7 separate regions of the Homo sapiens genome follow, and all the other regions are linked to region 1. The links are contacts of gene promoters, found by promoter capture Hi-C in blood cells and fetal thymus (Javierre and others, 2016). All regions are on one chromosome and are shown on one strand. Each heading gives the region's core, a stretch centred on a gene start or on the middle of the fragment in contact. The rest is flanking DNA. Distances are from core to core; before and after follow the strand shown.

Region 1 (3,993 bases), core at 531-3,030:
TTTATGGCAGACTGACATATTTTCATTTTACTCAGGAACCATTCCTAATAATTAAAGACTAATTATTAATGATCTCCAAGATGGTAGCTTGTTGCTAGCAAAATGCTAAGAAAAAAATATCAATCTCAAATTACAGTGCATTTCTAGAATATTAAAAAAAAAAAAGTCAGAGAACTGGAAACCCTCATACATGGCTGGTGGGAATGAAAAATGATGCAGCCACTTTGGAAAAAGTTTCCGTTTCTCAAAAAGTTATACATAGAACTACCCTACGACCCATCACTTTCATTCCTAGGTATCTACCCAAGACAAATTAAAACATACGTCCACATAAAGACTTGCACATGAATGTTCACAGCATTATTCATAACTCGAAACGACCTAAATGTCTGTAAACTGGTAAATGGGTAGTGTTTCATCCTGCCGAACCCACGACTGGGGTCGCCCTCTAAGAGTTCATTAAAATTAATAAGGTATAATTACCTAAAACTCTTGTAAACAGGGGCTCGAATAAGTAACCTATCACAATTGATAAACCACACCATGTTGTTGGCAACCTGATATGTGCAAGGCATTAAACGGAGAGCTTTGCCCTCAAAGGGTTAAGAACATCTAGAATGGGGGTCTCCTCTTTCGTCTTGGGAGCCCCCTCCGTCTGTCTCTGTAGTGGGGAGCTTCTTCCTTCAGCCTTCTTCCTTCTTTCTTGCCTATTAAATTCTCCGCTCCTTAAAACCAAAAAAAAAAAAAAAAGTCCAAAAAGTCTTGGTGTTTACCACAAAAGAACGATGCTATTCCAACATCACAGCCTCCCTAAAGCAACTCTCAATTATTACATAAAGAGGCAGCCTCCCTAAAGCAACCCTCGATTATTACATAAAGTCACTTAATCTTTTCTGACTTCACCACTCTTTGCAACCAGAGTTTACTTTGCAGTAGGCTGTGGTGAAGTTAGGGACATGGTTTGGAAAATCTAAGTTAGGGATACCAGGCAAAAAAAGAAGAAGAAGAAAGAAAAAAAATCAAAGCTCTGTCATTACTGTGAACTTTTCAACGAGAGCCTTAAATCTCAGCACAGGGAAAAGAGACCCTTCCTCAAGCCCTGGAGAAGAGGCTGGTCACAACCTGCGGATCTCAGATCCCTTTGCCAATTTTTTTCTCTCCCTCTGAATCCAAAGGGTGACGCTGTCCTCACTGCTTCCCCACACACCAGCGAGTGCGCGGAAGTCCACCTGCGTGGTTGGACCGAGGGGGCAGGTCCATTCGCGGCCTCCGCCACGCCCCACACCGCCCCTCCCGGCACAGCCCGCCGGGGTTAGCCCGCCCGTCCGCCAGCTCCCTCTCAGCGGCGCAATCTCAGGAATTCTTAACCCTACTCTGGGCAGGTGGGATGGCTGAGAAAGACCCTGCATGCCGCCACTTTGGCTCAGGGTCCTCAGCCCAAACTGAGAAACGTTTTACAAAGAAGCGTGACGACCTTTCGCACTAAACCAGAGTACCGCCACCTCCATCGACCGAGCGCCAAAATTAACCGACTTACAGATGTGACTGGGCGCAGCGGCCACCGTAAGGCGTAAGGGGTGCCAAGTGCCGGTTCCAGTCCCGCCCAGCCCCGCCCCGCCCCGCCCCGCCCAGCCCCGCCCCGCCCCGCGGCCTGCGTGCGTCAGAGATCACGTGCCGCGCCTCCCGTCCCTACAGGCAATCGGGCGCTCCCCTCTTCCGGAAGTCGCGCCGGTGCGCGCCGGACTCCTCCCACCAGCGGCGACGTCAAACTCAGCTCCTACCACTTCTCTGTCTCTGCCGACCGGCGCAGGGAGGGCTGCCTTTTCCTTACAGTACGCCTTGAGGCTTCCGGGCCGCTGAAGTTTACGAGCGAGGGCAGTGCAGTTACTCAGTGTGCCGGCCTCGGACGCACGTGAGTAGAGTTTGAGAAGACAGAGGCTGGCTCCCGGCAGGCCACGCCCGCAGAGGCCTTTCCCCCTCTCCACAACTTGTGTTCTACTTGGTTCCGCCGAGACCCACGACGGTTCCGCCCCCTTCTTCCTAGTCATTGATGTTGTTGTTCTTGTCAGTGCCGCAGCCCCGACCGCCGGGAGCTCGAACCCGAGCCGGGGCCGCCCGGGTGGCGCGGTGGCGGCGGCTGCGGCTGCAGCAGCTGCGACGGCTGCGGGGGCTGCTCCGGGTACTGCGGGGGCGGCCGGGAGCCGGCAGCCGGCGGCGGGGCCGGATGGCTCTGTGCGGGCAGGCGGCGGGCGCTGCGTCGCTGCCCAGCGAGCTGATCGTGCACATCTTCTCTTTTCTGCCGGCGCCCGACCGGCTGCGGGCCTCGGCCTCCTGCTCGCACTGGCGTGAGTGCCTCTTCTATCCGGCCCTGTGGCCCCAGCTCCGCATCTGCCTCCGCGTCTCGCCCGCGGAGCAGCCTCGGCTGGAATTCCTCATGCGCAAGTGCGGCTGGTTCGTGCGAGAGCTGCGTGTTGAATTCGCCGCCGAGAACTATCTGAGCGGCGGTGGCCCAGGGGACGGAGGTGGCGCGGACACCGGGACTGGAGGGGAGGAAGTCGAGGCCCTGCAGCTCTCAGCTCGTTGGCTGGAAGTGCTGCGCACCTACTTGGAGCTGGTGCTTTGCGTGCTGGTCAGCATCCGGAACAACAGGTAGGCTTGCCCTGAGCCCCGCCCCGCCCGGTAACGGGGGGTCGCTCCGTCCCCGCACCCCGACACAGATTCTGTGCATAATACGTGCCCGGCCAACTTCAGTGTTGCCTTCCTCAGTGACGGAGAGTGTTGGTTCTAACTAGGCGGTTTCCTTGAGCGGAAAGGCATAACGGGACTCATCACGATACTTTATAAACAGTGGTGGACGGGGTGTTTAACAGACACCACTTCTGGCGCCTTCCAGGCACTCATTCATCCTCTTGGTGGCCGTGGGATGGAGCTGACAGGCGCTGTCACTTTTCATTTTATATATGGGAGCGTTAAGACTGGGAGGGTGAGGCCTGTGGGTGAGCCTTGGAAGAAACAAAACATACACATAACACGATTTTCTGACTCTGAATCTGTTAGAAATAGTTCATGGTGAGGGAAGGAGTAGGTACTCATAGGACGCTGCCTAAAAGAAATTTTGTAACAGCCATTTTCTTACCAGAAATAGTTTCGGCTAACTGAACAAGGCCCGAAGAGGAGGAGGAGTGTTTGTTAAAGGGATTGGGGAAGAAGTTGATCTTCAGGGTTGAAAGTCCCTCCCCATACACCACCACACTCAACTTCTCCCCAGTAGTTCACCTAAAAGTAACAGTCGGGCGGAGGAGGCGGGCGGGCAGCGAGGGAGTTGGCCAGGGTCTGCAGAGGGTAAGCACATAACTGTTCTGGTTTTGCATCAGGACTTCACTGTAATTCCAGAACTAACGCCTTATATTCTGACCCAGTATCCCTCCCAATCATCATTTTTCTCCATCGCCACCTCCAAAACCCTATTAATTTAGATCTTCTTTATATGGATATTCTAAAGAACCTTACAGTAAAGCTCTTATTAGAAGAAAGTTTAGACGTTCACAAAAGGAGCACCTTACATAGTAAAAATACTTCAGCAGTTTCACATTCACTGTGTTGTTTGAGCCTCTCAGTGGCACTATGAGGCAGGGTAATGATAAATAACCCTGTTTTACAGAAAGGAAACTGACCCTTTATAGGATCAAGTGATTTGCACATTGCTGTACGGCATTGTTTTTCTCCGAAAGCGTGTCCTTTTGCAGTAAATATACTGAACATTATGTTGAACAAGGTTGAGAGCAGTCCCTGGTTTAATGCTAGGAGATATATATAGATATAAGGTTATATATATATATGTATGCGCCATTAATCTGTGTCTTAATTTAGAAGTCAAGAGATAAGTTATAGCTCCAAGTTGTATCTGGGATATGGCTCCATTATTCCAGTTGCCTGTGCGTTTCCACAGCTTTTCGCAAGACATTCTATTTCCTTACTTTGGTTTTATCTGGC
Region 2 (3,993 bases), core at 945-3,444, 8.9 Mb after region 1:
AAGAAATATTACTTTTTTAAAAAAGCATAAACTTTTGAGTTAAATCTAATTTCCGACTTCAGTTCCAACGTGTTACTAGTTGTGTGAGAACAAATTACCGAGCCCCTCTTAGCCTGTTTTCTTATTTGAAGATAGTAACTACCTCAGCGATATTGTAAAGATTAATGAGAGAATGTATGTGATGCGGTTTTTACAGTTTAGTAACTCAATGTAATTGGAGACTTATGTATCATTTGCTATGTGGCACACACTATTTTAAGGTCTTTGTATATATTAACTCATTCAATCCTCACAATAATCCTACAAAGTAGGTAACCTCATCATACGGTAGAGGGAAATGAAGCAGAGAGGTTAAACAGCTTGCCCAGGGTCACCTAGCTATCAAGTGGTGGAGATGGGCTTCAAACCAAGGCAATCTGGCCCCAGTTCCATGTCTTTAATCAACACATTATAATGCCTTTCTAGGAAAGATCAAATCAGTGTTTTGAAAACTCACAGTATTTTCTAACCTTTCAGTTAAATATGCAGACTGTTCAATGCCATCCTCCAGACCTACTGATTCAGAATCTGAGATCTGAAGTGCAGGAATCAGCATTGTTGAACAAATCCTTCAAGGTAGTGTATACACAATAAATTCTGAAACTCACTGATTTAAGAAAGAGCAAAAATCCAATGAAAATAATTCAGGTAGAAAAAAATAAAGAGATTAGGATATAGCGATCAATTTTTAAAAATTACCATTTGTTGACAGCACATATGAAATGAGCAGAAAGGCTTAGAGAAGTATAGCCAATGTCTCTGTTACAAAGACACTATATGAAAAATGCTCATATTTTAACTATCCTAAACACCGAGTATTTAAGTCTATTCTTCCTGGCTAACACTTAAAAGTTCAATAGCAGGAAGAATGGGGGTGCTGGAATAGCCAGCACTGGATGAAGGAATGTTTTTATTCTGATTATTATGAAGTCCTACTTTTAAAAATATATTTATACATTTAAATGGTACAATATCCTGGTGTTAAAACCTTAAAAGGAACTTAAAATATCTTTTCGTATTAAGCTACACAAAACTGACGATTTTTAATAAAGATGTAAAACTTGTACACATTTAAAGTTCCCATTTATAGTTTACATTTATGGCACACTTTTAAACCATTCCAGAAGGCATGACTTTACTACTGGGTTAGACAGAGTTCCATATTTCAGATAGTTCATCATTAAAAATTAAAAAAAAAAAAGCCCAAAACAATAAAACCCAAAGAAACAGATGCTCAAAGCATTAGTGGATTACTTCCAAAAAGACTCCATAATAACCCAGTTGGCCAATGAATGAGGGAGGCGAAAAGGCAGGGCGGTGGAACTAAACCTTATCCCTATTGTTTGCAAACTAAGACCCTAGTTAATCACCACCGCTGTTACCACAGCCGGTTTAAATAGGAGTCTCGGATTTTTGCGGTACATGAAAAATGTCAACCGTGAAAGAAAAATATCCGGGTTTTAAATACAAAGGACACTCGAATTTCAGTTTAAATCCCACTCAGGCATTTCAAAGACTGTCACTTCCCTGCAGTCCAGAGTTAATCAAGGTTGCCCGGGTATCTCTCTCAGGAGGAACGCGGAGCCACGTAGAGCATCTTTTCATTCTAAACCCGCCCCAACCTTCCATCTTTCATTAAAAGAGATTTGTTTAAACGTGGCAACGCCTTCACAGTGAGATTTAACTACTGTTAAAATTTCAGCATTCGAGCCGAATTGGTGGAAATAATAAACTACGGGTTTAAAAAAAGCCACGGAGGATGCGTATAAACAAGGTTTACTCGCGGGGGACCGGCAGGGCCTCCGAATCCTCAACACTGAGAGCTGGCTGGCGTGCGCAACCGTCGAGAGCGCTGGTCCAGCAAACGCCCCCAGTGCCCCGAATTCCCTTAGTCTCCAGGCCGGGCCCCAGCACCAGACGTCCCCAAAAGCACTGCGAGGCCCCGGCTGCGACGTCCGGCCTCCTGACACCCTCTCCCACCCCACGGTCCTGCTTCTCTCTCTGGAACGTTCTGCGTCTTCCCGTTCCCCATTTACTCACCAAGGAGAGCTGGGCAGAAGTTCCAGAGCCTCAGTGCCACTTTTCCCGGCCCGCTGTACGTCGGGGCACGCCGACCGCGAGCAGCCACATTCAACGGCCCACAGGATTCAAATTCGTCCACTTCCGCTCGCAAACCCGGAAAGAGCGGTCGGCCCCGCCCTCGAGGGGTGGGACCCGCGGAGGCGCTGGCTGTGGGGAAGGGCCCGTGTGCTCCCGCCCTTCTGGCGCTCCTGCGCTGCTGCTCGGTGCTAACCTGGCTGTGTCGCCTTCGCTTGTTTGTTTTGTCGGGTCTCTCTCCCTATTTAGGAGCTCAGAAAAACTCCGGGCGCGGGGTCATTGTTTCCGCCTATTTGCTCTTGAGGGGATCCTCTTTTTTCCAAAATGGACAGAGATGTGCTGAAGTTTCGTCACCTTCGAGGAATGGGGCGAATGAAAGCACGAACGGAGGCAGGAGGGTTTTATCTTTCCCTTCATCCTCGAGGAAACAGCAGCAGCAGCAAGAAGGAAAAAAACAAACCCTCCAAGTACTTAGTGCAGCCTTTCCTGGGCCTCTCAGTCCTATCCCGGCACAGTCAGGGCTTTTAATTTATTTCTGTCCTGGGTTTAGGGAAAACAAAAAGCCAAGTTCACCCGTATTCAGCCAAAAGTTGAAAATAAGTGGTCGGACCAATTCCTGGTCTCAAATAAACTATTTGATGGTGTTAGAAGGCAATAAATTTTATTTCCCCCCTCAGATAAGGGCTCACTTTACGAGATTATTAAGTATTGTCCCGTGAGATTATTGAAACAACAGTATCTTTTCCTTTATCGAGGACCACAGTATGTCTTTGATCCAAAACGTCTTAAGCTTCTGAAGAGACATCTGGGAGCTTCCAGAAACTAAAGGAAGGACTGGAAATGCTAGGGGGTGAGGGGCGCTAAATAACTCTGACCTTTATGGCTGTGATTGATGTTGCCACCAGATCATCCTCACATCTAATAACATTGAATTACCTAAACGGATCAGTACAAACCAAACCATGACAGCATACCTTTAGCCTTTGTCAAAAATACAGTTTGAGGGCCGGGCGCGGTGGCTCACGCCTGTAATCCCAGCACTTTGGTAGGCCGAGGCGGGTGGATCACGAGGTCAGGAGATCGAGACCATCCTGGCTAACATGGTGAAACCCCGTCTCTACTAAATGTACAAAAAATTAGCTGGGCGTGATGGCAGGCGCCTGTAGTCCCAGCTACTCGGGAGGCTGAGGCAGGAGAATGGTGTGAACCCGGGAGACGGAGCTTGCAGTGAGCAGAAATTGCGCCACTGCACTCCAGCCTGGGCGACAGAGCGAGGCTCTGTCTCAAAAAAAAAAAAAAAAAAAAAAAAAAAATACAGTTTGAAAGGTTTACTAGATTTCTGAGAACCTATGCTACAGGTAATCTGACACAGGGGGTGTGTAAAGCTATTAACTGATGTACTGTTTTTAACAGTGGAAGATAGAAAATAATCTGTGTCTACAAATAAGGAAGGGGTTAAATACATGTAAGTTATGATACTTTAGCATCTGATATACTGACGCTGCGGGCACTAAAAGTAATGAAGTAGATCAGCGGGTACTGAAATGAAATACTGAAAAAGTTTAAGAAGGACTGTAGTATCCTTGTTTGAAAGTATGTGTGTGTATATGGTATACAAAGTTTTGGGATGGATACCTAAGCTGTAAACATCTCTGGGAGCGGGCTGGTAAATAAGAGTAGGAAGAGATGGAGAACTTTTACCTTTCACTTTATCACCAGTTGAATTTTTAAGATAATAAACTTTTTTTTTAATTTTGCAATTTTGTTCTTTAAGGAAGATTGCTAGAAATTGAATACATTCTAGATACAAAATCAGGTTTAATGAGCGTATAAATTTCTAATGTTTGGATAGTCTAT
Region 3 (3,993 bases), core at 612-3,111, 8.8 Mb after region 1:
TGGTGGACATAGTAAGGATGAAACCTATACTTCTTTGTATATACTTTCAATATATTCTTATTATACATTTGACTTTGGAACTATATAAAACATTTTATATAATTTTAAAATAAAATGAAATGTTAATAAAAACTAATCACTAAAAATAAAAAATGAAAATGCAATTTATGCTCAATTTTTAGCCACACATAAAATATTCCAATGACTTATAAGCACAACAATTTGATAATGTTAGTATTGTTATTCTGAGACTATTGGTTATGAAATGTGGAATAAATCACATGAAATAGTTGCTTCATACTTAAATTCTCCAGTGTCATTAAGAACTGGAATTCTCAACACAGGACAAAGAAAATGTTAAGTAAAAATCATGCAATAGAGAATCTGAATTAGAATTATCAGGACACACTCATAATGTATCTTTAAAAAAAAGTTTGATTTTAAAAAAAAAAACAAAATAGATTAAAATAGATTTAAAAACCCTTGATTTTCTAATTTGGGTTCAATGAAAAGGTCTAGATACCATGACCAACCCACCAAAACTAAGAATCTCTAGCATCCAGACTGTGGTTGTGAATTACCCATTTCCCATTAAAAATAACAAAGGTTCCTTAGGCTAAAATGTACAAAATGAGTCTGAAACACCTTGTGATACCATATAGCAAAAAAGCTTACAAAGACCATTAAGGCTCACATCGAAAGAATTAAAAACAATAATATAAAGAGACTTATACTGGTCCAAGACATATAAACTTCAGTAGTAATAGTAACTATAAAGATTTTAAACACATCAAATATATTTAAATCTATGGATTAATGATACTACTTTTTTTTAAATGAATTTATCAGGTTTGAGATGATATCTGGTATTGGCTTTAAAATAATACTGGAGTCAATAACAAGGGTAGGATAAAGATGAACAAGACAGGCACAAGTTAATAAGTGTTAGATCTGGATGGTGATTACAGACTTTCATATGTGTATTTCCATTGTTTAAAAAAATTGTAAGAGTGTAAGGAGATACATAAGTTGTCTAACTTAGACCAGTGTTCTAAACTAAAGGACAGCAGGAATCATACATACCTTGTTAATCAAAGAACGGTCAATATATGTATTACCCAGCAGATAAAAGGTACTCAATAAATAGTTATTAAATGAATGCACAGAGACAGAATAGTTGGCTCATGTGGTAAGAGTTTTAAAAAGAATATTTTTTAGAAAAAAATTATAATCTGAAGCAGTGGTTATTTCTATGAAAGCATCATACATTTACACAATTCTTTTTTCATTTTTTTGAGAGGGAATCTTGCTCTGTCACCCAGGCTGGAGTGCAGTGGCATGATCTTAGCTCACTGCAACCTCCGCCTCTTGGGTTCAAGCAATTCTCCTGCCTCAGCCTCCCAAGTAGCTGAGATTACAGGAACCCACCACCACGCCCGGCTAATTTTTGTATTTTAGTACAGACGGGGTTTCACCATGTTGGTCAGGCTGGTCTCAAACTCCTGACCTCAAATGATCTGCCTGCCCCAGCCTCCCGAAGTGCTGGGATTACAGGTGTGAGTGAGCCACCATGCCCGACCTACACAATGCTTATTAAATGATCAGAACAGTAACCATCCTAAAAAGGCTTAAGTTATTATTTAAAAATAGCATTTAAATTTTTTTCTGAGAAAAACATCTCACTTATTACCAAATATATCTCACATTACAAGATAATTAACCACTTTAAACATGTAATTTGAAAGAGCCATATATTAATAGAAACAACTTACCTTTCAAAGGGTGTGTGGACTCTCTGAATTACATGGTAGCCAAGTATGTCTTTTACTAACATATATTTATCACTTAATGTCGTTATAAGTCTGAGACATCCAATTAACTCAAGGTAGTTATAGCATTCATTTATTATTGACTTTAAGTCAGCTACAGTTGTTGCAGTATTTATCTGTAATGAAGGAGAAAATACAGCCACTTTACTCATTTACTTTTGAGTGACATGCACATTTCAAATGATACTTGTTAATTTATACTCAAATTTCTTAGTACATATGGGTGCAGTAAAAGTAAACCAAGAAATATTCTTCTAGAATAAATGTCTGATCATCCAGTTCAACAAATTTGTCTATTTCTGCCTTCAAGAAATCCAGAGTATAATGCCACTTTACTACGTGAAACTATTTATAAAAAAGGAAATAACTGACATTGAAAAATTATATAGCACTAGGTAAGACTAGCTACTAGGGAGGCTGAGGTGGGAGGCCTGCTTGAGGCCAGAAGTTCAAGAACATCCTGGGCAACACAGCTAGCCCCCCTCTAAAGAAAAAAAAAAAAGGCCTGGTGTGGGTGGTATACACCTGTAGTCCTAGCTACTCTGGAAGATGAGGTAGAAGGATTTTGAGCCCAGGAGTTGGAGGTTCAGTGAGCTATGATCACACCAATGTACTCCAGCCTGGGTGACAGACTGAGACCTTATCTCTTAAAAAGAAAAGAAAAAAAAAGAGAAAAGTTACCTAGTACTAGATAGGCAAGAAAGATGACCTGAGAATTCATGAAAAAGAGTAACAGCTGAGAATTAAAAGATGGACAGAATTTTATCAAGAATATTTTAGTGAACAGCATAAACAAAGAAATACTTGGCCATTTATGTGCAAGACACTTTCATACAGGTTAGCTCTTAAAGGTACAGATGGAGAAAGTTAAAAATAGGAAACAATCCATTAACAGAAAATTTACTTGCAATTTCCTTTTCCTAAAACATTCTTAGAGATTTACATGACTTCTTTTCATTCATTCAAAATCTCTGCTGAAATCTCCTAAGTTTTTCATGACTATTCTGCTCAAAATACTATCTTTACACCCTGTCGGAGTAATAATTGGGTATATGTTGCCTCATCCCTGCAAACCCTCAACCCTGAGTTTCAGCTGGGCACATAGCCAAACTTTTGCTGCAGCTAGGTGGGGCTACATGACTGTTCAATGGGATGTAAGTAAAAACAACATGTCAAACTTCCCTGCTCTCAACTTCCACTTTTCTCCTTTAAGAGCAAGCTTCAACCATGTGGATGCAAACAATAATGCTAAGTGTTACACGATAATGAGAGGAAGGAACTCAAGTCCTTAGACGGTTTTGTAAATCACAACTCTATCTCGAAAACAGAGGGCCATCTGTATAAAGGGCCAGATAGCATTTTATGCTTTTCAAACTATATGGTATCTGTTGCAGCTACTCAACTCTGCCACTGTAGCGTGAAAGCAGTCAGATCAGTAGCAAATGGGCATGGCTGCATTCCAATGTAACTATTTACCAAACAGGCAACAAGCCAGAACGTGACTTACAGGCCATTTTTTGCCAACTCTTACCCTAAAATCTAGACAATGGATTTTACAGAACAGTAAACATCTGCCTTGTTTGAGCCACTGTCTTTCTGGGTCTATGAGATACAGAAGTTTAGCCTAAAACCTAACTTGTATATACTCCAACCCTTATCCATCTCCTTTTATTCTGTTGTATGTATGCATGTATGTATTTATGTATACATTTATTTATTTGGGATGGAGTCTCACTCTGTTGCCCATGCTGGAGTGCAGTGGCATGATCCCGGCTCACTGCCACCTCTGCCTCCCGGGCTCAAGCGAGCCTTTCAAGCAGCTGGGACTATAGGCGCGCGCCACCACACCTGGCTAATTTTTTTGTATTTTTAGTAAAGATGGGGTTTCACCATGTTGGCCAGGCTGGTCTCGAACTGCTGACCCCGGTGATCCACCCACCTGTTCTCCCAAAGTGTTGGGATTACAGGCGTGACCCACTGCGCCCGGCCATATTCTGTTTTATTTAGCATTATAATACATTTTACTACGTGATGGCATATTACATTTGTTGTTTATCTTCTGTGTTCTCTCTTAATGTAAATTCCAAGAAGGCAGATACTTTGCTTCACTACTCTATCTTTAGTAACAAAACAGTACAGAATACATAGTATTTCTTAAATAAAT
Region 4 (3,993 bases), core at 799-3,298, 8.0 Mb after region 1:
GGATTCTGATTTTATCAAGGAACAATTAAAGAAATTGCCCTAGAAAATCTGATACTACATTTGCTGTAGGGACATAGTTTAGTATATTTCTCACTGTCTCCTGTGCTTAGTACTTGGGGTCATAGTTAGGTGTCTTCCACAAAAAAATTTTCTCACCCTCTTTGTTCGAGTTCTCATTTACCAAGCAACATCCTGATTTCTGTGTTACTCTCTCTACATAAAAATAATATGCTGGTCATACCGATTTTGAGTATTTCTCATAGTTAATTAATAAAGAGACTTCTGAATATGATCTAGCTTCCTATGCTTCACCACAGGGGGAAACATGCTGACCATGCCCTATGTGAGAATTTCTACTCCATGTCATGGCAATATTTCTTGTTGTAAATGACTAAATTAGTATTCTGGTTCTACCCCAATCTAATGTGCATTTTAGTTAATGTTAACCAATTTCTCAGAACCTGGTTATTATTTTTTTTTTCAAAAAAAAATAAATCTCTGGGCTTTAAACTAGAAAAAAAAATATCTGGGCTTTAAACTAGAGGGCTAGATACTGTCTTCCCTAAGATAAGATACCTACCTCTTCCAGTTGCACTTGTTTTTTTTTGGTTTTTTTTTGTTTTGTTTTGTTTTGGTTTTTTTTTGAGACGGAGTCTCGCTCTGTTGCCCAGGCTGGAGTGCAGTGGCGCAGTCTCGGCTCACTGCAAGTTCTGCCTCCTGGGTTCATGCCATTTTCCTGCCTCAGCCTCCCGAGTAGCTGGTACTACAGGTGCCCGCCACCACGCCTGGCTAATTTTTTGTATTTTTTAGTAGAGACTAAAAATGGTTTCACCGTGTTAGCCAGGATGGTCTCCATCTCCTGACCTCGTGATCCACCCACCTCAGCCTCCCAAAGTGCTGGGATTACAGGCATCAGCCACCTCGCCAGGCCTGCACTTGTATTTATTAACATATCCTATATAAAGTCTCAGGTAAGAGGCTCAGCTGAGAGCTAAATCTGAGGAAAAGCTCTGCTTATCCCTAGAACTATGAAATAGATTATACTGCCCTTCCCTATCCTCTCCTATTTACAACCAGGAAGCTTAGCATCAACTCTAAGGAATCTTTTAGAAATGGTTCTCAAACTTTTCATGTTTGTGAAATACTTTGAATGCCAGAATTTAGGGCAGCCAACTTAAATGAATTAAAGAAGGTAAAATAACACTAAATTAGTTATTGTACCATCTCAGAGGACATAGAACCCATCCACAATTAATCCCCTATCCATATGGTACACTTTCAGCATTGTAGGTGTTTGAGAATTATCTCTGCTCAATGATTTCTCATACAATGACAAGGCAAAGCTCTCTCACATTCCAGTGAACCACCATCTTCTTGTAAAGCCAACTTAATGCTATGCTTTGCCTTTAGTTCCAACTTGAAACAAATTGTACAACCTACAGCACCTCAATACTACATACAATGAACATAATTGTTTTATAACAAAAATTAAAGTTATACATTTGTGAAAATTTTGCTGCATACTATATCATCTCAGCACTCCAGTTGAGAACCACTGTCTTACCTGTTTTCAATTTCCCCCATTGTGGCTTACTGACATAATTCTAGTTTCTTTATTTCTAATGCTTTAATTCACATTTTACTATTTTATTGCATGCATGTCCTTCCTTCTTAAATTATTTGCAGAATGAAACTAAGTGTTCAAAAAATAAAATACAGAAAGGAAATGCTGTCTTTGGTGGCCACTCTCTATAGCCTTCTGCAAATAGAAGTAAAAAATAAGTGAGCCACAGCCTATTACAGTACCTACAGCAATGTCCACGAGATCCTCACTCAATAGGAGGGTTTAAAGTAATTAGTGATTTTTGAGAAGCTAACCATTACCATCCATACTCCATCTATTCTACTCACAGGAAGGGTTTCCCAATTTGTTAAAGAAACCCTCTCTGTAGAAAGATCTCTGCGAACCACATAACCTATTCTCTATAGACCTCCCTATTTCCTGCAGCCACATACAAATGGACACCAAAGTCTTTTCTTATTCTGGGACATAGCTAATGGTTTGTATGTCAAAGTTTCTTTCAGGCCTGTAAAATCTGAATCTGAGAGCCGGAGAGAAAAGAGACTCAGTAGTTATAATGACATAAAGGTGCAGACATGAAGCAATTCAACTTGTCTGTGCTTTGCAGACAAATGTCAACAACTGTTGGAATCCCTGCAATGCAACAATCAGAGATCATGTGAGATTTTGCTTTCTGTTTTTACTAAAAGTGTAAACCTGGCTGCAAGATAACCAGCAAACAAGCAGCTTCGATTTTGTGTACAAAGGACTGTTGATTATGCATGGACTATTTTCTTCAGTCACACTACTTTGTATGGATAGCAACACTGTCAGTGATGTCATCTTTTTAAACAACAGATCCGAATGTATAGGCACATTGTGTCAACTGAGCCCAAATCAATGACCTGGGTAATGCAATCAGGGTAACACTATTATTCCTCATCTAAACCATCCAAGCCCATAGACAAATAAATGCTAATCTGATGCATGTTTAAGGAATACGTTACATGGGAAAGAAAATCAAGCCCTTGTTTAGTTTTATTTACATTCTAATATGTACTTCCAGAAAATGCATCACAGAATTTACGTCATATGCATCAGAATAAGCTGTTTTATTTTTGTATTAGTAGCGGGCTAAGTTATTAACAATCATACTTTCTTGGATAAGAACATTTTTAACAAGGATATCTTCTAAAGAATGTGTATTCGTATAGCATACCAATACCTTTTCACAACTGTGGAATCAGAATAATTTATGGCATTCCCGATAGAGGAGGCAGCATTGTTTTTATTGATTGGAATAAGGAAAATTTTGAAGGATGTATATATAGCTTTTAGTTCCATCTCCGCTTGCTTTATGATTCGATTATTTGTTTACTTACTTTCATATGGGCATAACATGAATTTAAATCAAGCAGATTTAAAATTTTTCAACAGTTGGAACCTAAGCTTTCTGAGGTGAAAAATGTTTCTTAAAAGGTTTGTAGGAAAGAGATTTAACGAGTCTTTTCAATCGTTTAATAAAAGTATACACTGAGCGCCTTCTACAGAGTTGGGCAGGTGCTGCCGAGAAGCTTAGCGCTACGCCGGCCTCCAAGACCGCACATCCGGGACATTCGAGAGTCAGTCCGAGGCCCCGCCCTCCTAAGGGCGGGGCCACTGGGCAATCGGCGCAGGCCCTTCGTCGTGCCCCGCCTCGTCTGCCCCGCCAGCGCGTCGAGGGAGGGGCCAGCGACACATGGCCTAGTAACTGTCCGGCCGCGGCGCTGGCTTAAGCCATGGCTGAGGGTAGCCGGATTCCTCAGGCCCGGGCGCTCCTACAGCAGTGCCTGCACGCCCGGCTGCAAATTCGCCCAGCCGATGGGGACGTCGCGGCCCAGTGGGTGGAGGTAACGTCAGCCCGGCAGCTCTCGTTATCCTCCGGCGTGCGGGGCGGTTTTTTCCGCGTTGTCTCGGTGACTCGTCCGCTCTGTGTCTCCCTCTGAGACCGGCGGTCCGGCCGCGGGGATACCGGGTCAGCTTGAAGCTGGCCGCGGTGGCCTGCCTGGCTGCGCTTGTCTTTTCGGTCCAGCATCACCGTTCCCCAGCGCCAGTTGTAGCACCCGAGAGGAAGAGCGTGTCTCCCTTCTTGGGGGGACCACAGGTATTTGAAACTGAGTTCGGTGAACTTCAGGCCTTACTGTCTCAGACCCCTTGCAGCTCGTGGTCTATGCTGGTCGGGGGCAAGCTTGTAGGTCAGGTTTGCTGCAAGAGTTCATGATCTGCTTTGACTTACGCCTCAGATCGCGTCGAATTCCCCCCTATGTTGACTTGGTCTTAGCATAGAAATGAGATTTCCTAAGAAACAATTCTATTTCAAGAAGCCTTTTAAAAGTTTTGACCAATTTCCAACTGAGAAACAAAGACCTCTACTTTTATAACAATGTTGCCTT
Region 5 (3,993 bases), core at 710-3,209, 5.8 Mb before region 1:
AATTGCATATCTGTAATAATAATAACAACAACTACCATATACTAAGTACCTAACATGTGCTAAGTGTTTTATACATGTTGCCTTATTTAAGCCTCACAATGATTCCATCTCATTTAATGAGAAAATGGAGGTAAAGTAACTAGCCAATAGATATACAGAGAGTAAGAGAAAGAACTCAGATTTGGAATCCCTTAATGACTCCGTCTCAAATGACTCTAAAATCCATTCCCTTAATGACTACGCTATTTTCAGACCTATGTAGCATGCTGCCTACTGGTCGGTCCCTCTTGGATTACAAAGTAAATTCAAAATGATCAAGCCTAAAACTAAACATATCTTCTCAACCCCCGACAAACCCTTCTTCCAGTATTATCTACTTCTCTAAATGGTACCATTATCCACCAAAATGCCCAAATCAGAAACAAGAAGGCTTTCTTTAAAAATTTCTCTCTTCCAAGTCCTACATCAAATTGATCATTTAATTCCGTCAACTCATTCCCTTAACTTCTCTCCAATCTGCCCATCCCCACTTTCAGAGTTTGGGTTAGGCCCTCATCATGTCTCACCATAACAACTACAAAAATTTCTGAGACAGAATTCTCATCTAGAATGCCATCCACTTCTAATCAATTCTCCACACACTGTCAAAGTGATCATTCTAAAACTCAAATGTTGGTGAGAATGTGAACAACCTGGATCACTCACATACTGCTGCTGGTAGGAATGCAAAATGGTACAGCCACTCTGGAAAATAATTTAACAGTTTTTTTAAAACACTAAATACTTCTCACGTTACCCAGAAATTGCCATCCTGGGCATTTATCCCAGAGAAGTGAAACTTAAGTCCACATAAAATCTTATGATTTTTCATAACAGTTATATTTGTAATAGCAAAAAAAAAACTGGAAATAATCAAAATGCCCATCAATAGATGAATGGTTAAACAAATTGTGGGTATATCTGTCAATAAAAGGAAACTATCAAAACTATTGATACACACAACTTGGATACAAGGGCATTATACTAAGTGGGGGGAAAAAGCGCCAATCTCAAAAGGTTACAGGTATAATGATTTTGCTTATACAACTTTCTTTAAATGGCAATATTAGAGATAAAAAAAAAAATGATTAGGGCTGGGCATGGTGGTTCATGCCTGCAATTCCAGCACTTTGTAAGGCCAAGGTGGGGGAGACTTGAGGCCAGAAGTCTGAGACCAGCCTGGGCAACATGGCAAAACCCTGTCTCTACTAAAAATACAAAAATTAGCTGGGCATGGTGGTGCACACCTGTAGTACCAGCTACTTGAGTGGCTGAAGCACGAGAATCACTTGAACCCAGGAGGCGGAGGTTGTAGTGAGTCAAGATAGCTCTGGAGAATAGCCAAAGGTCTACAGCAACCAAGAAAATGCTGAACCAAGAAAGTGGGCAGACCACTTGAGGCTGGGAGTTCCAGACCAGCCCGGACAACATGGCAAAACTCTGTCTCTACCAAAATAAAATACAAAAACTAGCCAGGCACTGTGGCACATGTCTATCATCCCAGTTACTTAGGAAGCTGAGGTCGGGGGGTTAACTTATACTGCGAGGTCAAGGCTGCAGTGATCCATGATTGTGCCAACGCACTCCAGCCTGGGTGACAGAGTGAGACTGTGTCTCAAAAAAAAAAAAAAAAAAAAAGGAGCAACTTACTATCTAAAGCAATCTGCAGATTCCATCAAAATATCAATGACATTCTTCACAGAAATAGAAAAAAAATCCTAAAATTTGTATAGAACCACAAAAAACAAAGCAATCCTGAGCACAAAGTTGGAGGTTTCACACTACCAGACTGTAAAATATACTACAAAGCTGTAATAACCAAAACAGCATGGTACTGGCATAAAAACAGACACATAGACCAATGGAACAGAATAGAGAACCCAGAAATTAATTCACATATCTACAATCTACAATCAACTAATCTTTGACACAGATGCCAAGAACACTCATTGGGAGAAAGGATGGTCTCTTCAATATATGGTCTTGGGAAAACTGCATCTCCATATGCAGAAGAATAAAACTAGACTTCATCTCTCACCCTATACAAAAATCTACTCAAAATGGATCAAATACATAAATGGAAGACCTGAAAATATAAAACTACTAGAAGAAAACATAGGTGAACTGCTTCAGAATATTGGTCTGGGAAAATTTTATAAGCCCTCAAAAGTACAGGCAATAAAAGCAAAAATAAATACATGAGATTATATATAACTAAAAAGCAATCAACAGAATGAAAAGACAAACCAGAAAATGAGAGAAAATATTTGCAAATAACTCATGTGACAAGTGATTAATATCCAGAATATACAAGGAACTCAAACACCTCAATAGCACAAAAATACAATCTGATTTTCAAATGAGTAAATGATCTGAACAGACATTTCTTAAAAGATATATAAAAATGGCAGGCTGGGCACGGTGGCTCACACCTGTAATCCAGCACTTTGGGAGGCCAAGGCAGGTGGATCACTTGAAGCCAGGAGTTCAAAACCAGCCTGGCCAACATGGTGAAACCCAGTCTCTTCTAGGAAAAAATACAAAAATTAGCCGAGCATAGTGACACTCACCTGTAGTCCCAGCCACTTGGGAGGCTGAGGCAGGATAATTGTTTGAACCTGGGAGGTGGAGGCTGCAGTGTGCTGAGATTGTGCAACTGCACTCCAGCCTGGGCAACAGAGCAAGAGCAAGAGTGAGAGAGAAAGAGAGAGAGAGAGAGAGAGAGAGAGAGAGCGCGCCAAGAAACACATGACAAAATGCCCAACATCACTAATCATCAGGGAAATGCAAATAAAAAGCACAATGAGGTTTTATTTCACCCCAGTTAGAACGGCTATCATCAAAAAGACAAAAAAAAGCAGATTCTGGCATGGATGTGGAGGAAAGGGAACTCTTAAAACACTGTTTGTGGAAATGTAAACCAGTAGAGCCACTATTGAAAATACGATGGAGGTTCCTAAAACAACTACAAACAGAAGTACCATATAATCCAGCAGTCCCACTATTGGGCATTTATCCAAATGAAAGGAAATTAGTATATCTAAGAGACAACTGTACTTGCATGTTTGTTACAGCATTATTCACAATAGCCAAGATTTAGAATCCACCTGGGGTTCAACAACAAATGAATGGATAAAGAAAATGTGGTATATACAAATGGAATACTATTAAACTATAAAAAAAGAATGAAATCTTGTCATTTGCAACAACATAGATGGAGCTGGAGGACATTATGTTAAGAAAAATAAGCCAGGAACAAAACATTAAACATCACACGTTCTCACTTATATGTGGAAGCTAAAAAATTTCATCTCATAGAAGTAAAAAGTAGAATACAGGATACTAGAGGCTGGGAATGATAGGGAGAAGGGAGGGATAAGGAGAGATTTGTTAAAGGTTATAAAATTACAGCTAGATAAGAATAAGAAGTTCTAGTTTTCTATATCACTGTAGGATGACAATAGTTACTAAGAATATAATTTCAGGCCACACATGGTGGCTCACACTTGTAATCCCAGCACTCTGGGAGGCTGAGGAGGGTGGATCGCTGGAGCCTGGAAATTAGAGACCAGCCTAGGCAACATGATGAAATCCCATCTCTACCAAAAAATACAAAATTTACCTGGGCATGATGGTATGTGCCTGTTGTCCCAGCTAATCCTGAGGCTGAGATGGAAGGATCCTTTGAGCCTGGGAGGCAGAGACTGTAGTGAGCCAAGATTGTGCTACCACACTCTAGCTTGGGCGACAGAGACCCTGTCTCAAAAAGAAAAAAGAAAAAAGAAAAAAAAATAAATATAATTTCAAACAGCAAAAAAAAGACACTGAATGTTTCCAACACCAGAAGAAGATAAATGTTTGAGATCATGGATATGCTAATTAACCAGATCTGATCACCAAGCATTACATGTATAAAAACATCACCATGTACCCCATGAACATGTACAATAACTA
Region 6 (3,993 bases), core at 386-2,885, 5.8 Mb before region 1:
GAGAGCTATCAGCATAGAGATGGAATTTAAAACTATGACACTGGAAATACAGCCTAGAGAGTGCGTGTAGGTAGGGAGAAAATTGAGGGGGCAATTGAAAGGGCAATGTCCTTACCACCTAAAGTAAAAGGAAATGATTACAGGTGTGAGCCACCACGCCTGGCCCCAAAATGTCTTTCTAAAGAAGTGTTACGCTTTATATTTTGTATTCCAGGATCGTTCCTGATTTTCTGCTACATTGCTGCCCATCCCTTCTCAGTCCTCTTTGCTATTTCCTCTTTCTTTCCCCAGAATCAGTCCTAAAAATGTTGGAATTACTGCAGATCAGCCCTAGAAATTGTTTTTCTACCTACACGCACTCTCTAGGCTGTATTTCCAGTGTCATAGTTTTAAATTCCATCTCTATGCTGATAGCTCTCCAATATGTTTCCAGCACAGAAAATTCTTCTCAACTCCACACTCATGTGCAGTTGTCTATATGACTTTTCTATTGATATCAGATAGGCATCTCAAATTGAAAATGTGAGAAAATGTGAGATTCTTATTCTTGATTTCTTTACCATACCTTCTCCATTGTCCTGTATTAGTACATTGTAATACCATTGGCCCCAGTATTTAGGCAAAATTTTAGATTCATCTTGGACTCTTGTTTCTCTCTCATGCTCCACATCCAAACCATGAAGAAATCCCATTGGCTCTACTCTCCTGAATGCGGCCTCTTCTCACTGTTCAACCACTACCTCCTAGTCCAGGGATGACTGTCATAGCCTAGTGGTCTCCCTGCTTCCAGTATTGCTTTTCTCCTTTTTCAGTCTGTTTTCCAGACAAGCTAAAATCTTCATATAGTCTCATCTCTACCCAACAGTCCCTTAAAATATCAAATTTTGTCGTTCTGTTCAGAATCCCCAGTAACTTGTCATCTCAATAGAAAACACTAAGCCTTTACCATGGTTTACCGAGCTGTACTTAGTTAATCCTGGAGATCTCCAACCTCACCACTTATTCCCTCTCACTTACTCCTTTCAAATTATGCCTTCCATGCTGCCTACCTGGATCTCTGCGCTGACTCTCTGTGCTTAGAAGAATCTTTTTGCTGATATCCATGTGACTCATTGCTCACTTTATTCAGTTCTCTCTTCCAAGACGTTCCCTGACTGTTTTGTCTTAAAAAGCACCTCATTTATCTAATGCCTTTTATTTATTTTTCATAGTAATTACCACCACCTGACATTTTCATATTGGTTTAGATGCCATTATCCTGCTTGCCTCCACCCCCAACCCTAACACACACACAAGAATGTTGGCCCTAAGAGGGGCAGCTGTTTACTTTCTCACTCAATCTCCACTATCTAAAACAGTGTGTAGAACTCAACAAATATTTGTTGAATGAATAATGAATGAACATTTTGATATCTTATATAAGCAGTATAATAGTATGGTACAGGATTATTATCTCCATCTGACTGGTGCGTTGATATATCTCAGGTAGTTCCAAATGTGGGAGAAGGCAAAAAGAGAGTATTATTTACTGTTACTTCCCCAAGTCCTACCTATAATTTTTTACTTTTTTCAGAAAGAAACATTTAAAAGGGGCTTAAAAACAGAAGCCATATTTGTGTCTTGGGTGAGGGTAAGACAAGATGGTGGATCCCCTCGCCATTACTACTGAGACCCATGGCTTATAAACTATCCTACTTATAATTTTTTATTTTTATGTATTTACTTTTTGAGACAGAGTCTTGTTCCATCACCTGTTGAGGCTCACTGAAGCCTCGACCTCCCAAGCTCAAGTGATCCTCCCACCTCTGCCTCTCCAGTAGCTGGGACTACAGGTGTGTACCACCACACCCAGCTAATTTTTAAACTTTTTTTTGGAATCTTACTATGTTGCCCAGGCTGGTCTTGAACTCCTAGGCTCAAACAGTTCTCCCGACTTGGCCTCCCAAAGTTCTGGGATTACAGGTTTAAGCAACTGTCCTCAGCCATCACCTATAATTTTTTAAATGAACATAATCAACATGTGCCATAACAAAGACTGTCCCATTTTAATGTCTTTTCCTGACTCAGTATAAAACTACCACTGGAGAATTTGTTTTTATTTGTAAATGTGTAACTTTACATATAAAGTAAATTGCCACTCAAATTATTCCATAAATTTTGACTTTTTTTCTCATCAGAAGTAGTTCAATCTTAAATTTTATGAAATTTATATTCAAGAATTTCTTTGCATAGATTGTCATAAAATGTTTTCCATTAGAATGATATTTTACTTGTAGTAAGATAATAAAGAGTTCTCTGAGCTATTCAGATGTTTACTTTGGAATAAAATACTGTTAAATCTAGATTACCAGCAGTTACCTTTTTAGTTTGTAGAAAATTGGAATACAGGTCTAAACTTTACAAAAAAAAAAAAAAACTCTTAATTTTTTAAGGACAAAACATAGCTAACTCCTTTTCACTCCAAGTTACTGGGCTTTTTGCAGGACTTGGTGTTTTAATCTGTACCTTGGGATTTTACATGATTTTTGTCCCCACCAGTTGAGATTTGGTGATAGAGTATTTGAAGTATAATTGCTTCTTGATTGTAGAACAAATGCAATACAACCTGAATTCAGTCTTTTCTTTTCTGTTTCATTGTATACAAGAATTTTACCTATTGCTATTTAGAATAGAATGTGAATCTTACATCGATGACACTAAGGAATATTTGGATTACTTAGACAAGTTTTTTCTTTTAATGTAAGTTAATTTTGTAATGCTTGTGCTGCAAGTAATACAGGAAATATGTTCTTTGTTTTATACTTGATTAGGTAGTTCAGCTACAGGAATGGATGATTAAAAGCATCAATAATAATACTGCTATATGTGTAGAAGGAAAATTGATGTAAGTATACTATTTCATTATTCTTTTAATAAAACTTTAGTTATGTGTAAGCACTTAAGAGTTAATGCATGAGAAATAGCATCCTCCACAAAGCAAAGACCTAACAAGGTTATGAACTGAAGGCAAAAAAGTAAAATTACTGTGCAGGTCCTAGCCATGTTGATTGCTACCAGCTTTCTTGTTTTTGCATGTTTACTCAAGTTTTTCTTAAAATAATGACAGTTCAAATTTGTATAGTGGTTTATTTTTTTCTGAGGTGCTAATAAGTGGACTGGTATTATCTGCTTAATTATATATGATCAGTTAATATTTACTACATGCATTTCAGTCCAGATTCTCACATCTAAATTGGGACAACCAGATATAAATTACTGATCCAGAAAAGGAATCAAAATTACTTAAAACTTTGCCATACGGCTACATATTAAGTAATCATTGGCACTTTCTGGTTCTCCCTAAAGTGAGAGCATCACCAGGTAAGTGGGCTTTACCTAATTCTGCTACTCTATTAGCACCATTTCCTATTCTTCAAGACCAGTTTCTTAGTGCTACAAATATTTGTAATAAAAGGTTATAACTGTTCTCCAGCCTGGGTGACAGAGCGAGACTCTGTCTCAAAAAAAAAAAAAAAAAAAGTTATAACTGTTTAAGGTACTCATATGTAAGTTTATAAGTGAATGTGTAAAATCTGTATTGTCCATTCTTTATCTGTCTGCTTTATGCCCATTTCCTTACTATTAAAGATGCAGTGTAGATTGCCTTTGTTGGAATTCCATTGCTGCTGCCTACTATCTGTATTACCTGGACAAGTTATTTATCCCCTGTCAGTCTCAGTTTCTTCATTTGTGCAATATGGATAATGGTATTACTTACCTAGTTAGTTGTGCTGAGGATTAAATGAAAGGCTAGAGAACAGTGCTTTTTGAGTGTTATTTAAAAGTTTCTTAAATAAGTAAATAAAGCAAAAGAGAATTGAAGAGAAGTAATACTGTATTAAGGTATAATGTGTGAGTTTAATCCCAGTTGACCAAAGAAAAGTAACTTGATTTCCTTATTCGTCATGCTTATCATCAGTATGTTTATTATTATTAGTTATCTGATGAATGGGA
Region 7 (3,993 bases), core at 1,118-3,617, 5.7 Mb before region 1:
CCATCAGCAATACCCAGGTAATATGTCATGGGCCTTGGGTGAGACTCTTAGACATGCTGGCTTCCAGTGAAACCCAGCACATCTCTAGCAATGATGGCTATGATGAGAAACTTCTGCTTGAGAAAAGCAGAAGTAAAGGAGACTTTGTCTTACACCTCAGGTACCAGCTCAGCCACAGTGGGGAAGGGCAACAAATGGGCTCTTGGGGACCTGATTCCAGGCCTTGACTCTTGAACAGCATTTCTGAAACTGTCCCAGGCCAGAGGGGAACCCACTTCTCTGAAGGGTGAGTCCCAGGCCTGGCAGCATTCAGCACAAGCTGACTGAAGAGTCCTTGGGCCTTAAATGAAAATCAGCAGTAGACTGGCAGTACACCTCATGGGCCTATGGTAGTGGTGACCATGGGGAGAGGCTCCTCTGCCTGTGGAAAGAAAGAGTGAGAAGGACTTCATCTTGTGCTTTGAGTGCAAGCTTAGCTGCAGTAGTATAGAGCACAAGGTAGATTTCTAAGGTTTCTGACTCTAGTTTCTGGCTCCTAGATGGCATCTCTGGACTTGCCCGGGGCCTGGAGGAACTTGCTGACAAACTTCACACGTTCTAACTTTTTAGTGGGAGCTAAAAATTAAAGTAATTGAACTCATAGAGATAGAGAGTAGAAGGATGATTACAGAGGCTGGGAAGGGTAGTGGGCGAGGGGGGTGGAGGGGACACTACATTAATGGGTACAAAAAAATAGAATAAATAAGATCTAATATTTGATAGCATAATAGGGTGACTATAGTCAGTAATAAGTTTACATTTTAAAATAACTAAAAGAGTATAACTGGATTGTAACAAAAAGAATAAATGCTTAAGGTGATGGATACCCCATTAGCCTGATGTGATTATTATGCACTGCATGCCTGTATCAAAATATCTCATATATACCATAAATATATATACCTACTATGTACCCATAAAAATAAAAAAAAAAAGTTTTAAAAGGCTGCCACAGAATGTATCCAATAAAATCCTTACTCAAGCCGGGCGTGGTGGCTCACGCCTGTAATCCCAGCACTTTGGGAGGCTGAGGTGGGTAGATCACGAGGTCAGGGGTTCGAGACCAGCCTGACCAACATGGTGAAACCCCGTCTCCACTAAAAATACAAAAATTAGCTGAGCATGGTGGTGGGCACCTGTAATCCCAGCTGCTTAGGAGGCTGAGGCAGGAGAATGGCTTGAACCCGGGAGGCAGAGGTTGCAGTGAGCCGAGATCGCGCCACTGCACTCCAGCCTGGGTGACAAAGCGAGACTCTGTCTCAAAAAAAAAAAAAAAAAAAAATCCTTACTCAATATGGAAGACCGTTCAGAGCTACTAAAATCAGAATATTATAGGACAGGTCTCAAAATCTGCATTTTTACCATTCTTCAATAAAGGAAACCAGAATTTCCCAGACATACTGTTGATTCCATGGCTGGGCCGAAAAAATACTAAAGGAGCATAATGTATCTTATGATGTCAGAAAGTTACAGAAGCATCAAAAGAAAGAGTGGCAAGGTATGGTGGCTCATGCCAATAATCCCAGCACTTTGAGAGGCTGAGACAGGTGGATCACTTGAGCCCAGGAGTTTGAGACCAGTAGTTCTAGACCAGCCTGGGCAACAATGGGAGACCCTGTCTCTACAAAAGATACAAAAATTTGCTGGGTGTGGTGGCAGGCACCTGTAGTCCCAGCTCCTCAGGAGGCTGACGTGGGAGAACCACCTGAGCCTGGGAAATTTAGCTGCAGTGAGTATTATTGTGCACTGCCCTCCAGCCTGGAGGACTCAGTGAGACCCTGTTTAAAAAAAAAAAAAAAAAGTGCATGTCTAAAGGACACAGGAGCTTGAAGGAGCTCCTAACAGACAAAGCTGGAACAATCTTAATAAAATTGATAAAATAGTATTGGACTGTGGCCCACAGAAGGAAAAAAAATCTTTATTGCAGAAGAATTCAAATTAATGCATATAAAAGAGAGAAAGAATGATTAGGCAAATACCACAACAATAATTGTTGCAAGCCAAGAACCACCACTGGATGCTAAAACAGGATTATTTACATAGTCTCAAAGTATTTCCCCCACAAGACAGTTATTAATTACAAAGGGAATAACAGTAATTTTACAATGAAGAAACCAAGAAGACATCATCTTAACTAAGTCAAGATTACAACACAAGTAAAAAAGGCAAAGCAACATCATCTATTCCCTGATAGGATATGCTGAGAAAGGTACAGCATCACTTCTGGATTATTGTTAGCAAATGCATAACGTCACCACATCATGAGAAAACATCAGACTTACCCAAATTGAGGGATATTCTACAAAATATCTGGCACCTACACTTCAAAAGCATCAAGGTCATGGAAAACAAGAAAAAAGAGGAAGCGGCCGGGCACAGTGGCTCACACCTGTAATCCCAGCACTTTGGGAGGCCGGGGCGGGTGGATCACGAGGTCAGGAGCTCGAGACCAGCCTGGCCAACATAGTGAAACCTTGTCTCTACTAAAAATACAAAAAATTAGCCGGGCATGGTGGCGGGTGACTGTAATCCCAGCTACTCAGGAGGCTGAGGCAGGAGAATAGCTTGAACCTGGGAGGTGGAGGTTGCAGTGAGCCGAGATCATGCCATTGCACTCCAGCCCGGGCAACAGTGCGAGACTTCGTCTCAAAAAAAAAAAAAAAAGAAAAAAGAGGAACCATCACAGATTAGAAGGGACTAAGAAGCCATGACAACACAATGTGAGATCACAGACTGAACCCTGGAGCAGAAAAGTACATCAGTGGGAAAACTGGCAAAATTCAGACAAGATCTGCAGATTAGTTACTGGTATAGCAATGCTAATTTTCTGGCTTTGATAATTTTATTATGGTTATATGATACGTTAACATTAGGGGAAGACGGGAGAGGACCAAACGAAGACTTCTATTTTTGCAATTTTTCTGGCAATCTAAAGTTATTTCCAAACAAAACTTTAAAAAACTGAAAACAGTAACAACTTTTAAAAATCATTTTACTATTTAAAAATATCCTGTATTTTTAACAGGTTTTAGGGATTCTTATGCACACTGCAGTCTGAAAACTACTAACTTAAAGAAACTCCTGGGCTGGGCATAGTAGCTCACGCCTGAAATCCCAGCACTTTGGGAGGCTGAGGCCGGCAGATCACCTGAGGTCAGGAGTTGGAGACCAGCTGGCCAACATGGTGAAACCCCGTGTCTACTAAAAATACAAAAATTAGCCAGGCGTGGTGATGGACGCCTGTAATCCCAGCTACTCGGGAGGGTGAGGCAAGAGAATCGCTTGAATCCAGGAGGCGGAGGTTGCAGTGAGCCAAGGTCATGCCATTCCACTCCAGCCTGGGTAACAAGAGCAAAACTCCGTCAAAAAAAAAAAAAAGAGAAAGAAAGAAAGGAAAGGAGAGGAAAGGAGGGGAACGTAAGGTAAGGGGAAGGGAACAGGGAGGAGGAAGGGGAGGGGAGGGGGAGGAGAACAGAGGAGAAAGGGGAGGGGAGGGGAGGGGAGGGGAGTCCTGCAACCACTGAAAAAAAGCTAGGCAGGTTGTAGGAAATGTTGTAGTTCTCATGTTAAACTAGATAAATACCAAAATGGAAAACTGATCTGGCCCCATATAAAAGTTCTTATTATTTGGATTATTCATTTATGTTTTTTGTTTTTTGCTTTCTTTTTTTTTTTTTTTTTTTTTGAGACGGAGCCTCGCTCTGTCGCCCAGGCTGGAGTGCAGTGGCTAGATCTTGGCTCATTGCAAGCTCCGCCTCCCGAGTTCACGCCATTCTCCTGCCTCAGCCTCCTGAGTAGCTGGGACTACAGGTGCCCACCACCACGCCCGGTTAATTTTTTGTATTTTTGGTAGACACCGGGTTTCACCGTGTTAACCAGGATGGTCTGGATCTCCTGACCTTGTGATCCGCCCACCTTGGCCTCCCAGAGTGCTGGGATTACGGGTCTTGCTCT

What was found. Contacts are between HindIII fragments. The CHiCAGO score rates a contact against its expected background, and 5 or more counts as called.
Region 2: the fragment with the promoter of G2E3 here is called in contact with the fragment with the promoter of FBXO33 in region 1 in 1 of 17 cell types (non-activated CD4 T cells); the score reaches 5.8 in non-activated CD4 T cells.
Region 3: a contact is called between a fragment that was not itself captured here and the fragment with the promoter of FBXO33 in region 1, in 1 of 17 cell types (total B cells). The highest score is 7.1, in total B cells.
Region 4: a fragment that was not itself captured here is called in contact with the fragment with the promoter of FBXO33 in region 1 in 1 of 17 cell types (non-activated CD4 T cells); the score reaches 6.2 in non-activated CD4 T cells.
Region 5: a fragment that was not itself captured here is called in contact with the fragment with the promoter of FBXO33 in region 1 in 12 of 17 cell types (non-activated CD4 T cells, naive CD8 T cells, monocytes and 9 more); the score reaches 30.6 in non-activated CD4 T cells.
Region 6: a fragment that was not itself captured here is called in contact with the fragment with the promoter of FBXO33 in region 1 in 7 of 17 cell types (non-activated CD4 T cells, total CD4 T cells, M0 macrophages and 4 more); the score reaches 16.0 in non-activated CD4 T cells.
Region 7: a fragment that was not itself captured here is called in contact with the fragment with the promoter of FBXO33 in region 1 in 10 of 17 cell types (total CD4 T cells, non-activated CD4 T cells, total B cells and 7 more); the score reaches 16.7 in total CD4 T cells.

Annotation. Positions count from the first base shown.
Region 1 is chr14:39,430,220-39,434,212 of GRCh38, reverse strand. It overlaps FBXO33 (F-box protein 33), which reads left to right and starts at 1,780. Exons shown (of 4, transcript NM_203301.4): 1 at 1,780-2,649. The coding sequence starts at 2,051. It overlaps LOC105370461 (a long non-coding RNA gene), which reads right to left and starts at 1,774. Exons shown (of 8, transcript XR_007064121.1): 1 at 1,694-1,774. RefSeq lists silencers at 1,182-1,351, 2,092-2,221, 2,662-2,791 and an enhancer at 1,742-1,991. The HindIII fragment of the contact is 7,836 bases long and covers 1-3,993 here.
Region 2 is chr14:30,557,359-30,561,351 of GRCh38, reverse strand. G2E3 (G2/M-phase specific E3 ubiquitin protein ligase) reads right to left here and starts at 2,194. Exons shown (of 15, transcript NM_017769.5): 1 at 2,080-2,194. G2E3-AS1 (G2E3 antisense RNA 1) reads left to right here. Exons shown (of 4, transcript NR_151720.1): 3 at 517-615. RefSeq lists an enhancer at 2,339-2,528. The HindIII fragment of the contact is 9,808 bases long and covers 1-2,928 here.
Region 3 is chr14:30,610,159-30,614,151 of GRCh38, reverse strand. It overlaps G2E3 (G2/M-phase specific E3 ubiquitin protein ligase), which reads right to left. Exons shown (of 15, transcript NM_017769.5): 13 at 1,773-1,945. Among named protein-coding and RNA genes, the nearest start is that of SCFD1, 10 kb to the left of the region's middle. The HindIII fragment of the contact is 2,378 bases long and covers 673-3,050 here.
Region 4 is chr14:31,456,740-31,460,732 of GRCh38, reverse strand. It overlaps DTD2 (D-aminoacyl-tRNA deacylase 2), which reads left to right and starts at 3,227. Exons shown (of 3, transcript NM_080664.3): 1 at 3,227-3,450. The coding sequence starts at 3,340. RefSeq lists enhancers at 3,063-3,242, 3,383-3,592, 3,037-3,622, 3,623-3,993. The HindIII fragment of the contact is 1,929 bases long and covers 1,084-3,012 here.
Region 5 is chr14:45,261,613-45,265,605 of GRCh38, reverse strand. LOC107984674 (a long non-coding RNA gene) reads right to left here. Exons shown (of 4, transcript XR_001750746.2): 2 at 3,662-3,795. Among named protein-coding and RNA genes, the nearest start is that of MIS18BP1, 10 kb to the right of the region's middle. The HindIII fragment of the contact is 4,164 bases long and covers 1-3,993 here.
Region 6 is chr14:45,236,539-45,240,531 of GRCh38, reverse strand. MIS18BP1 (MIS18 binding protein 1) reads left to right here. Exons shown (of 17, transcript NM_018353.5): 5 at 2,811-2,884. Among named protein-coding and RNA genes, the nearest start is that of MIS18BP1, 15 kb to the left of the region's middle. The HindIII fragment of the contact is 5,284 bases long and covers 1-3,993 here.
Region 7 is chr14:45,141,019-45,145,011 of GRCh38, reverse strand. All of the region lies in intron 3 of FANCM (FA complementation group M), which reads right to left. Among named protein-coding and RNA genes, the nearest start is that of FANCM, 7.1 kb to the right of the region's middle. RefSeq lists enhancers at 1-8, 99-158. The HindIII fragment of the contact is 3,787 bases long and covers 474-3,993 here.